Regions from separate parts of the Homo sapiens genome. Here region 1 is linked to region 2. Evidence: promoter capture Hi-C in human tissues and cell types (Jung and others, 2019). All regions are on one chromosome and are shown on one strand. The core of a region is centred on a gene start or on the middle of the fragment in contact, and the rest is flanking DNA. Distances in the headings are between cores, read along the strand shown.

Region 1 (6,343 bases), core at 2,368-4,867, 110 kb after region 2:
CAAGCTAGACACTATGTGCTCATGCCCTTGGTATTGTCAGGCCTGCTGCCAGAGAGGCTTTGGAGAGGGGCTTAGAGCTTACGAGACTACTTGACCCCACTTTACTCCATCTGGAAATGCAGGGTGGAGAAGGTAATCAAATTATGATATCAGCACTTATCTCTCAATGCCCATAATTACCTTGGAAGTATATAGAGCAATAAATTTGCAACCCTTTAGTCATAGAAAAAAATCTTTTACGTTTTGGTAATTATGTTGAATACATAATTCCAAAATAGTGGTTACTTTTATTTATGAAAATGCTGTCAAATGAAGCTTTGAAAAGAAAACTTTCAATATATGAAATCTGTCCCCTTTTTGACATCAAATTGAATTTCAGAGATTAAAATCTAACAACACTACACGATTCCAACTACACGACATTCTAGAAAAGGCAAAACTATGGAGACAGGCGAAAGATCAGTGGTTGCCAGAGGTTGTGAGGGGCAGGGAAGGATAAATAGGCAGAACACAGAGGATTTTCAGCACAGTGAAACTACTCTGTATGATACCTTAATGATGGACATCACACACTGGTCCAAACCCATAGAATGTACAATGCCAAGAGTGAACCCTATGTACACTATGGACTCTGGATGGCGATGATGTGTCAATGTCGTTTCATCAGCTGTAACAATGTACCACTCTCGTGTGGGATGTTGATGGGTGAGGGTGGGGAGGCTGCATGTTTGAGGGGGTTTGTATTTTCACCCAATTTTTGCTGTGGACTCAGAACTGCTCTAAAATATAAAAAGTCTTTATCTATATTTATATTTATCTATATAAATCTAATATCAGGTACTGTAAAAATATGAGCTAAATCTCATGCTAAGGTAGTTAGTTTGTTTTCCTGTGAACAGCAACTAATCATCATGACAACTCCAAATCCTTTCAATGAAATTGGAAAGCTTTTTCTGTTGATCATCAAGATTATCTTCATATGTAAACATAAATAACGTGTTAGATATGTGATTCACAGACAAAAAATGCAGTGAGATGAATATGGGCAATTCATTTTCACAGAAAATCTTATGTCTACAGAATATCCTTCAAAAAGTTCCTTTTATATTATTCTTTACAACAGTTTGGAAGTGAAAACAGCTTCAACTATCAGAGATTGTAGAAGCTGCAAAAAAGTGCCCAAAACACTGGCTGGGAAGTTCACCAGCAGCATCTGCTTATAGACTCACTTGGCAGAAATAAGTAATGTACCAAACACTTGCATGCAATAACAGGAGAAGGAAAAAACCACAGGTTAAAAAACAACAGAAAAAGGCTCCATCAATATACTATACTATTTCTTAATCTGCGTGGTTGATACATAATCGTTCATTTCATTATTCTTTATATTTTTATAACATAAAACTAGTACTTTATATGAATGAAACATTTCACAATAACTTTAAAATTTACAGGCATCAGCACAATCCCCACGTCTAACAACAAATCACAAATAATATTTGTGCTGCACAGTGTAAAACATTAAGAAGGACATATGAACGATTAAAGACTGAAAGAGCTATACTATTAGTTTATGCTGTTATTCATCTGCTATTGGTATGTAGATTCTTTCCTAGCGAAGTATCATTTAAGGCAAATATGGGAACAATATAGTGACACAAATGTCACAAAAAAAACTTCATGAACTCTCCACTTAAAAATGTAGGAATTTAGAAGTCTTTGAATGTCAAATGAAAAATAAATCCACGTCTAGTTATTTTTATTTTTTCTAGCTAGTTCTTAAAATACAGAATTAATTTAACTTCAGAATACCTATGCAGCTGACAGTATTCCTGGTTTCTGGAATCCCCCAAGAGAAATGGATTTAGTAGACAAGTATTGCAGCTGTTAGAAAAATCTTACAGACAGATCACTTAAATATGATATGGAACAATAGTTATAACAGTAAGTAAGCTTTATTCTAAATCCACTGCACTAAAGGTGCAAGAATTCTGTGAAACTTAACACTGGTTCTGCACTAGGATTGGTAAAGCAGATTTAAACAATCAGAGCTGACTCATACAAGTCATGAAATATTACATGGTTATCATCCAATTAGAATTAAAACATTAAAACAATTCTTAAAACACTTCTTTTAATACGAATCTGTATTTAAGGTAAAATAGTAACTAGTTTTCTTCCAAATATCCTGGTAGAGCTAAAACTATTGTTATTATTTCTAAAAAGTATACTTTTAATGTGCAAGCTTTAAAAAATACTCATGGATTTAATTCTATCTTTTAAGCAGAGGAAATGAATGTGCTTGATGGGTGGGGGGCGCTGGACAGCCAGCTTGCTCTCTCCAGTATCATCAGTTTATTCTTTTATAGCTACAAGAACCGTTTGGTGGGGATGTTGGCAAGGATCTTCAAACAATCCATCCTTTCATGGGTGAAGGTGCAAGGTAGACTACACAGTTACACTGTACGGACACAACCATCCAGAGAATAAGTATTGTTTTCCCTCTTATCACTGAGATATCCCAAAATTTATGCTCCCCACTTCTCAATCTGTAATTTGGCTTCAATTTATGGCTTCCTTTTTGTCACATAACCTCACTACAAAGTAATTACCCAACAAGCCAGAGAAATTAAATTCTGAATCAAGAATGCTGACCTCTAAATACACTCACTCACTTGACAAATTGCAAATTTATTTTATTGCATTACATTCTATAATCAACTTCCTAAAAACTTTATCAAGTACCTTTTTCTTTACTACCTTGTCCTGCTGGTCTTGAGATTAGGCTACAAATATACTAAAACTAGATGTAAGGTTCTTCCTTTATAAATTGTTATTTACCACGATTGCCCTTATACACAACACATACATCAAAATGCATATACAAAATACCTCAATGCTATGAAGGCTGCTCTGTTCCTGTAGCAACATACTGCACAGCTTCACCTACTTGGCTGAACTCAAAATGGTTAATTATAAAAGAAACCAAGAAACAAACTAGAGTATACAGTTCTAGTCATATTCTCCTTGAATTTCACTGAAACAATTCAAATGCATCTACTATTATAAATCTTTTATAAAACAGCTGTTGTATTAATATGAACAATTATTGATAGAATTTTAATCTTTTTTTGAGACAAAGCCTTGCTGTATTACCCAGGCTGGAGTGCAGTGGCATGATCTCAGCTCACTGCAACCTCTGCCTCCCGGGTTCAAGTAATTCTCCTGTCTCAGCCTCCTCAGTAGCTGGGATTACAGGAGTGTGCCACCATGCCTGGCTAATTTTTGTATTTTTAGTAGAGACGGAGCTTCGATGTGTTGGCCAGGCTGGTCTCCTCACCCGACCTCAGGTGATCTGCCTACCTCAGCTTCCCAAGGTACGGCCGTGAGCCACCAAGCCCAGCAGGATTTTAATCTTTAAGGCAATACTTTTTCATCTCCACATTCATTCTTACCTCTTCAGTTCAGCAATAGATAATAATTTGATTTCTGGGTATAATGAAAAAATTCTTATCTCCAAAAAGTCTCAAATAATATCAAGAAACTTCTGCAGCCACAGAGAAACTTGGCTGAATACCAGAATTGCTCTTTGTGAACACAGACTCTCAGTTAACTGCAAGTCAGAGTACTCATAAATATGTCTCTTCACTCACATGCTAAAGCCACCCAGCAAGGTGGCTTTATGACATGGGTTTCAAAAACACACACTGGTATCAAGAATGCTTCTTCCTATGAAGATGCTCTTCTTCCCTTGCTACACAACGTTACCACCATCAAAGACATGAATTGCTATTAAAAAAGATGATAATCTGTATATATTCCTAAACAAACACAGCTCTGAAAAAAGTATTCTCACAGTAAAACAAAGTCTTACATGTGGAACCTGTTTTCCTACTGGAAAAAGAAGCTTTCAATATTTCACAAAATTACAATTATAAAAATCATTTAAAAAATAATTTTAAAAAATTAGAATTATAATTAGTTTGCACCAAACAAAACTCAACAGTTGTTCTTATGTGGTAAGAGTGCACACAGGTTTTCAATAAAAGCTATTATTTTAAAGGCTCATTTTAAAAAATTATTCTACATGTTATTGCTTGTAATAAATTATTGTACACTATACACGTCCCCCTCCCCCTCCCCTTTGTTTTTTTGTTGAGATGGAGTTTCGTTCTTGTCACCCAGGCTGGAGTGCAGTGGTGTGATCTTGGGTCACTGCAACCTCCGCCTCTCGGGTTCAAGAGATCCTCCTGCTTCAGCCTCCCAAGTAGCTGGGATTACAGGCGCCCGCCACCATGCCCGGCTAATTTTTTATATTTTTAAGTAGAGAAGGGGTTTTGCCATGTTTGGCAGGCTGGTCTCGAACTCCTGACCTCAGGCAATCCGCCTGCCTCAGTCTCCCAAAGTACTGGGATTACAGGCGTGAGCCACTGAGCCCGGCCTATACAGGTACTTTTCATGCAGTTAATCCACGTCATAAAGCAGTAGAAGGAATTCATACCCTGACTTTACCAATAAGCTAACATGCTCCAAAAAAAAGTGAAGCAGCTTGCTTGAACTCTTGCTCTTCATGACTGCCTGGCCTGTAACTGTGCAGTCTCCCTCAAAAGTTCATCATCTTTTCATCCCATGTTAACTCCCAAACTCATATCTTTAATATGCCTCAATTTTTCAAATTTTACTTAAAAGATCATGTCTTGGCCAGGCGCGGTGGCTCACACCTGTAATCCTAGCACTTTGGGAGGCTGGGGTGGGTGGACTGCGAGGTCAGGAGTTTGAGACCAGCCTGGCCAACATGGTGAAACCCCGTCTCTACTAAAAATACAAAAATTAGCCGGGCGTGATGGCGCATGCCTGTAATCCCAGCTACTCGGGAGGCTGATGCAGAAGAATCGCTTGAACCTGTGAGGCAGAGGTTGCAGTGAGCCAAGACCGTGCCATCGCAGTCCAGCCTGGGCGACAGAGCGAGACTCCATCTCAAAAAAAAAAAGATCATGTCTTTATATACTTTTCCATCTCAGGACAACTACGTATTATGTACTATTACTACAATTACTGGGTGCCCAAGAAAACAAAAGATGAAATGGTTTCTGTCCCAGAGGTCCAATTTGGTTTGGCTGGATTTGTTCCTATATTTCTGGTATTAGCTGTATACTCCCCTGGTCCTCTACTCCCAGCATACAGAAGATACAACGGAAACCGCTTGAGGTTGAGATGACATTTAGGAGGTTTACTCTTAAGAAAGTCACCATGCCTGGGCCACCCCATTAGCCCTCAACTTCACCACACATCCCCAACCTGGTTTCTACGACTAATGCAAAACTTTAAACAGATCTTTTCCCTCTGTCCTTTTCAATAGGTGACCAATTATTTTAAAAAATAATTTTTAAATATCATAAACAGCTCAATTAAAAATTAATTAAAAGAGTAAAATAAATGAAAAGAAATAATACTTTTCTTGAATGAAACCTGTTAGGTTCATCTTCACTAGAGCACGCCTGCTGTGAAATAAGCACAACACACATCTGCTTCTCTGCAAATGCATGCAGGCTTTCTATATTCCAACACTCCTATGTCAAATCTTGAAGGAAAAATTGTCAAGATGTCAGTGTCCTCAAATAAATTCTGCACTTAAAATTTGCAAACCAAGGATGCCATATATCTTCCAGCAATTCTTTAAAACGTTTAGGAACACGCTTAACTCACAAACAGAACTAAAAGGAGCTTAGTTTCTAAATATAGGATCAACATGCTCTTTAATCCACCTGGTTTAGAAGAGAAAATAAACCAAGGTGGAGAGGGAAAGTGCAAGGAATTCATGTTAAATAAAACCTGACTAGTTCAGAATCTGTGATCATTTGAAAGAGGTTTGAGTAAACTGTAAATACTTAAAATGTTAAATACTTAAAATTACCCTGGATTTTTATGTTTAGAATGTAAAGTATCCCTCTGAAACATTCAACTGTACATATCATGCCTTTAAACTTCTATTTTTCTGTTACTACATTTTCTCTACCGTATAAACACTTGTCTGACCTGGTTCCTTTCCTCATCAAATCATGAAAGTGCCCGATTACATAAACATAATCATTCTCGAGTTCTCTATTCTCTGAACACCTCTGAAGGGATACGAAAAAACTCACATACACGTTGGCAGAATCTAACCAACACAACTTACAATTTAACATGAAATTCTAACAAAATATCTACATTCTTTTTCCTCTTACAGCCTTTCAGAAAGATTCACATTTTGACTCATAAAAAGAAAAATTAGTTTCAACAATTTAATCACTACTTTGTGGAATGAAATCAATTTTTTTCCATGATTAATACAGCTATTCAG
Region 2 (6,008 bases), core at 82-2,581:
TTAACTAATGGTTTACAATTCAGTCAAATACCAAAGCTGCAAACCATTTAGGGAGTCATCAATTACATATTTTGTACACTTTCAAAAAGCTTACAGCTGGGATGGGTTGTTTATTTTCAAAGCATGACTGCTTTAAAATGATCATATTCTTTAGCCTGCCACCTAGGAAGCATTAAGCATTTACTTGCAGAATGAACAAACGAGCACGTTGTCTTGTGTTATGAAGTATATAATATAGTTCGTTTTAGTTTCTTCATTCGCAGACTATCAGGCTCATTTCACGTGACTGCTTGCACTTAGAACTGAGTTATCACGGAGTAGGAACTCTCCAACATCGTCGTCATAGACCAAGAGATGCCCATGAACAGCCATGAAAGTGCCAGTCAGGGAAGTATTCAGTGCTTTGTTGTAGAGTTGTTGGATAGAGGCACAGGATCATTTCATGTTGTTGAGGAGAAAGGAGCAACAGCCTCCTCCCACCTTATTAAAAATAGAGATTTAAAAAAACCTCTAATTTCCTCGAAGTACAGAATCTCAAGAGGTAGCTCTAAGGAGAATCCCTCTGGGTTTGAGCGCATTCCTCTTCCAGGGGGCCTATTCTTGGACTGCTTTCCTTAATAGAGAAATCTCTCTGAGCCAAAATCGGCCTCCCCCAATTCCATCCTGTCGGCCCCACTTTTCTGCTTCGGAGACTTCCAAGCCAGTCCCCACTCCTCCTTCAGCCAGTCGGGCCCGCACCCGCGCCCGGCAGGGCCAGCCCTCTCCTCCTCCTGCGTGGCGCAGCACAGGCCCTGAGCGCGCGACCCCAGGCCCTGGGCGCCCCGCCGCATGCTCGCGGCTGGAAGCCCCAGTTTGCGTGGCCCTTCGGGTTATTCCGCTCAAGAGCCGCCGCGTCGCCCCATCTCGGCGCGAATCTGAAAGCGCTTTCGGGGGAGAAGATGTTGGGGGCACTGGTGAGTACACTGCACAAGTGACAAAATGTTTTCAGCTCCTGGAGGCGAAAGGTGCAGAGTCGCTCTGTGTCCGTGAGGCCGGGCGGCGACCTCGCTCAGTCGGCTTCTCGGTCCGAGTCCCCGGGTACGAGGAAAGACCACAGGGGGCTTCTCGCGGAAAAGCGGGCCGCGGACCCTGCGCGGGCTGGCTGGGGCGGGCGGATGACGAGGCGCAGGGGCAAGGGTGGGTCTGCGAGGCGGCGGGTCCGGGCGTCTTAGGCTCCGGGGCTCCCTCGCTGGCGGCGGAGCAGGGATGGCGCGCCCGGGGGTGAGGGTGCGGCGGGTCACAAGCACTCGCAGCCCGCGGCGCAGCAACCCGGCAGGCACACGCACACGTGCACGCGCGCCCCGCACCCGCCCCCCGTGCGGCCCCCGGCTCGGGGCGGCGGCGGCGGCGGGGGCCGGGGGCGCGCGGGCCGGCGCCGGGCTGGGCCCCGGGGACCCCGCGGGCGGCGGGCAGGCGGGGAGGGCGCTCTGGGGCCCGCCCGCGCGGCTCCCATCCTCCGGGCCGGCCTCTGGCTCCGCGGGGCGAGGGGAGGCGCCCGCCGGCTCCGGGCGCCGCGGGCGGGACACGGGCGCGGGGCGCAGGCGGGCTCCTCCGGCGCGTGCGGACGCTGAGCGTGGCCTGTCCCTCAGGTCTGGATGCTGGTAGCCGGCTTCCTGCTGGCGCTGCCGCCGAGCTGGGCCGCGGGCGCCCCGAGGGCGGGCAGGCGCCCCGCGCGGCCGCGGGGCTGCGCGGACCGGCCGGAGGAGCTACTGGAGCAGCTGTACGGGCGCCTGGCGGCCGGCGTGCTCAGTGCCTTCCACCACACGCTGCAGCTGGGGCCGCGTGAGCAGGCGCGCAACGCGAGCTGCCCGGCAGGGGGCAGGCCCGCCGACCGCCGCTTCCGGCCGCCCACCAACCTGCGCAGCGTGTCGCCCTGGGCCTACAGGTGAGCCGCGGGCGCGTCCTGGCGGGGCCCGGCAGGTGGGGAGGGCAGGGCTGGGCGGGGAGAGTGGGTGGGGCCGGGCCGAGGCCGGGCAGGCGGGGAGGGTGGGGCGGGGAAGGGGAGGTGGTTGGGGCGGGGCGACGCGGAGGGGGCGTGGCACGCGGGGCGAGGCGGAGCAGGTAGGGGTGGGGTGGTGCGGGGCGAGACAGGGTAGGGTACGGTAGGGTGGGGTGGGGTGCGAGGGGCGCTGCGATGAGGCGGGGTGGGGCGGGGCAGTTGGAGCACTGGGGGGCAATTCCTAAACTGCGAAGGCCCACCCCCACCACCTCCCTTGAAGGAGTCCTGCTTCCTCTCTTTACCCTCCAGTATTTCCTATGCAACACGTATCTCTTGAACACCTCATCTCCTCCAGGTTGGATGGGTCCGCAAGGCACTAGCTGGGGACCCTTCCGTGATGTGGACACAGTGATGTGGACCGTACTCTGCACAGGGGGCCCGGGGAGGTGCTGCTGGGGGGTGCGCGGTACTATCCACATATTTCCTGAGTGCCCCTGTGGTCCAGAGGCTGCTGGAGTGGAGCCCTGGGAAGCGCCCTCTGAGCCCCTCTAGTTTAATAGCCTAAGGAAGGAGTGGGGATAATTGGGAAAGAAACCACACCATCAGGCAGTGCATGAAGTGACATGAACAGTTTCGAGAGTATTTTGGTCTTGGAACAGAGGTCATTTCAGAAGAAAGGGACAGCCTGCAGAAGGGGAAGGCTGGAGAAGTTGGGGGCGTGTAGGCAGGGTGCCGCAGTGTCCTCAGCAGGCACCTGTGACCGTCTTCCCTCTAGCTGGAGCAGGAGGAGCTGCCCTAGGGGGCAAGGCCTCCCAGGGCCACAGAGGTCAAGAAAGGCTTCGTGAAAGAGCTGAGTCTTGATGGAGGAGAGCAAGTCGCCTACAAAGGCAGTGCTGAGGGAAGGGACAGCTGATAGCAAGCGGGAACAAAGCGCTTGGAAAATGGGGAGAGCCACAAGGCGAGCGGGGGCGGTGGGGGTGGGGGGGCGTAGGCGAGGTGTTTGCCTGTGGGGTGGGCATCGATGTAAGGCTGGAGACAGGTGCAGGAGCTGGATCCCCGCCTTGTCAGCAGTGCAGAGCTTCACCCTCACGCCTGGAATCCCAGCACTTTGGGAGGCCGAGGCAGGAGGATTTAAGTCCAGGAGTTCGAGACCAGCCTGGGAAACATAGCGAGATCCCATTTCTGCAAACAATTTTTAAGGATTAGCGAAGTGTGGTGGCACGTGCCTGTGGTCCCAGCTACTCCAGAGGCTTAAGTGGGAGGATAGATTGAGCCCGGGAGGTTCAGGCTGCAGTGAGCTGTGGTGGCGCCACTGCCTTCCAACCTGCGTGACAAAGCGAGACCCCGTCTCTAAAATAAAAATTAAAGAGAAAAAAAGTCTTGACACTTGAGATGGAGGAAGCCATACAGCCACTCTGGTTTAGGAGGGTGTCCCAATGGGGCATGGATTGGACAATGCTCTCCAGCACTTCCATCCAAAGGATCTAGGGCTTCACTCAGGCAGCGCGGTGGGAAGGGGAGACTAGGATCAGCGTGAAAGATGCTCATTAAAGAAGACAAGTGCTGTGGAGAGTCAGAGGAAATGTGATGATTTTGTCTAAAACGCATCTGGGCTTTCCTGGAGCCTCTCCCTGCCGGCTGCTGGGTAGGGAGATTTCCTTTTACTCAACAACACACAGGACCCCTATGCTGTCCTGGGAAGCCAAGTTTTAGGGCCTCCTGCCTCCTGGCTACTCTGCAGAGGACCAAGCTCACTGTGGCAGAGCCCCCTCAGAGCCCCTGCCCACGGGGAAGTTGGGTGGGACCCCTCCCGCCCTTCTCACTCCTGTCCTTCAGCTGGAGCCTGCAGGGCACACACATGGCGCCATTCATTCTGGTATCTTGGTGCTCTTGCTTTTCCTCTCTCTTCCTCCATTTCCAGGACCTGAAGGGATGGACTACGGCATTCTTCTTTCTCTAACCTCGTGTTATGCTTCTGATATACCAAATAGGATTAAAGCCACATAAGGAATCTCTCAGAACCAGAGATTAACTTCTCTGGACAGAAGCTGCTGGCCCTGCTTTCTATAGCAGATTCGAACTCTCAGGCAAACCCGTGGCTCCCCACAGGCTGGGCCAAGGGCCTAAGAGTAGTATATAGCCTCCCAAAGGCATGTCTCTCATGTTTCTGGCTTGGGTTGTTGATGGTATTTGAGCAAAATGAGAAAATACACTTAGGAACAAGTGTTGTGGGAGGAAATAATGAATTTAGTAACAAGCCTGTTGAGTTTTGCCTGCCTGAAAGGCGTACAGGTGACAATGACTGGTTGGAGCTCAGGAGACAGAGCAGGGCTGGAGGACACATGGAGAGTTAGCAGCACTGGCATTCTGTGTGTGGGAAGTTAAATTGAGTTGCCCTTGCTACAGATGACACCTATGTCGCCCCAGGCAGGATCTGGGAGCCGAGGGAGGTTATGGATGAGAATGACACACAGGGTTCGGGGATCGTGGTCTGGGCCACCCAGATCTGCCCACATGTGGAACCTCAGTGCTGGGTGGTCCCAGGAGCAGGAGTGGCAGCTGCAGCAGGGTGGCTGAAGGTGTCATGTGCATCATTTTTCATATTATTTAGCAACAGTGATGAGATCACTCCCCATGGGCAAACGGAGGTGGGTGGCTTATATTTGCTGAAGGAAGGACAGTCTTCAGGGGATGGCTGCTGGGCTGGGACTCCAGATTGCTGACTGCCAAAGCTGCTCCTGCATTTTCCTGCCAGGAGAGCCCTCTCTGCCCTCCTCCCTCCAATCACCTCTCACCATCTTTTGGGTTATTGGGAAGATTAGAAAAAGTGAGACCCAGCCAGGCCCAGTGGCTCACCTGTAAATCCCCGGCTACTCAGGAGGCGGAGGTGGGAGGATCACTTGAGCCCAGGAGTTTGAGACCAGCCTGGGCAACATAGTATGAGACTTATCACTACAAAAAAAACAGCCAGGTGTGGTCATGTTTGCCTGTGGTCCCAGCTACTTGGGAAGTTTGAGCCAGGGAGGCTGAGGCTGTAGTGAACTATGATTGTGCCTCTGCACTCCGGCCTGGGCAACAGAGTGAGAACTTGTCTCAAAAAAAAAAAAAAAAAAAAAAAAAGGAAAAGAAATAGTGAGCCAATGGAAGTGTGGAGCCTCTACTAAAAGATGTTGTGGAAGGACAGGTTTTTTCTTTTAGACAGAATCTCGCTCTGCCACCCAGCCTGGAGTGCAGTGACACAGACAGATCAATGCAGCCTTGACCTTCTAGGCTCAAGGGATCCTCCTACCTCAGCCTCCCATGTAGCTGAGACCACAGGTGCGCACCACCACATGCAGCTAGTTTTTTTGTTTTGTTTTTTAGAGATGGGGGCCTCACTTTGTTGCCCAGGTTCGTCTTGAAGTCCTGGGCTCCAGTGACCCTCCTGTCTCAGCCTCTCATAGTGCTGGGATTACAGGCGTAAGCCATGGTGCCAGGCCAGGGCTTGTTCCTTGGTGGAGTGTCTGAGGGTGGGGCCTGGGTAGAGGAGTGCCCACCTGCAGGCTGGGCACAGGGTCAGGTGGTATTTCTTTCTTTCTTTCTTTTGAGACAGGGTTTTGCTCTGTCACCCAGGCTGGAATGCAGTGGCATGATCTTGGCAGACTACAACCTCCATCTCCTGGGTTCAAGCAATTCTCCTGTCTCAGCTTCTGGAGTAGCTGGGATTACAGGTGCATGCCACCACGCCCAGCTAATTTTTGTATTTTTAGTAGAGACAGGGTTTCGCCATGTTGGCCAGGCTGGTCTCGAACTCCTGGCCTCAAGTGATCTGCCTGCCTTGGCTTCCTAAAGTGCTGGGATTACAGGCCCAAGCCACCACGCCCTAAAGGCACAGCAGTCAGAGAGAATGCTGAGAAAGACAGATAGGGAGATGGACTGAACGTCAGGAGTACTGATGGGCACAGCAAGGATCACTTTAGGTGGATAAGTTTTACAATAGGCATTTGGAAGGTGGCTTTCCATACGGATGGAATGGAGACCTGGGTCATTC

What was found. The method cuts DNA at HindIII sites, captures the fragments that hold promoters and counts their contacts. A contact is called where the count stands out against the background at its distance.
Region 1: a fragment that was not itself captured here is called in contact with the fragment with the promoter of IL17D in region 2 in 5 of the 25 tissues and cell types used here (dorsolateral prefrontal cortex, heart left ventricle, hippocampus and 2 more).

Annotation. Positions count from the first base shown.
Region 1 is chr13:20,814,681-20,821,023 of GRCh38, forward strand. All of the region lies in intron 9 of XPO4 (exportin 4), which reads right to left. Among named protein-coding and RNA genes, the nearest start is that of EEF1AKMT1, 44 kb to the left of the region's middle. The HindIII fragment of the contact is 5,973 bases long and covers 632-6,343 here.
Region 2 is chr13:20,702,368-20,708,375 of GRCh38, forward strand. It overlaps IL17D (interleukin 17D), which reads left to right and starts at 1,332. Exons shown (of 2, transcript NM_001385224.1): 1 at 1,332-1,924. The coding sequence starts at 1,635. RefSeq lists silencers at 714-793, 1,214-1,353, 1,644-2,153. The HindIII fragment of the contact is 9,244 bases long and covers 1-3,771 here.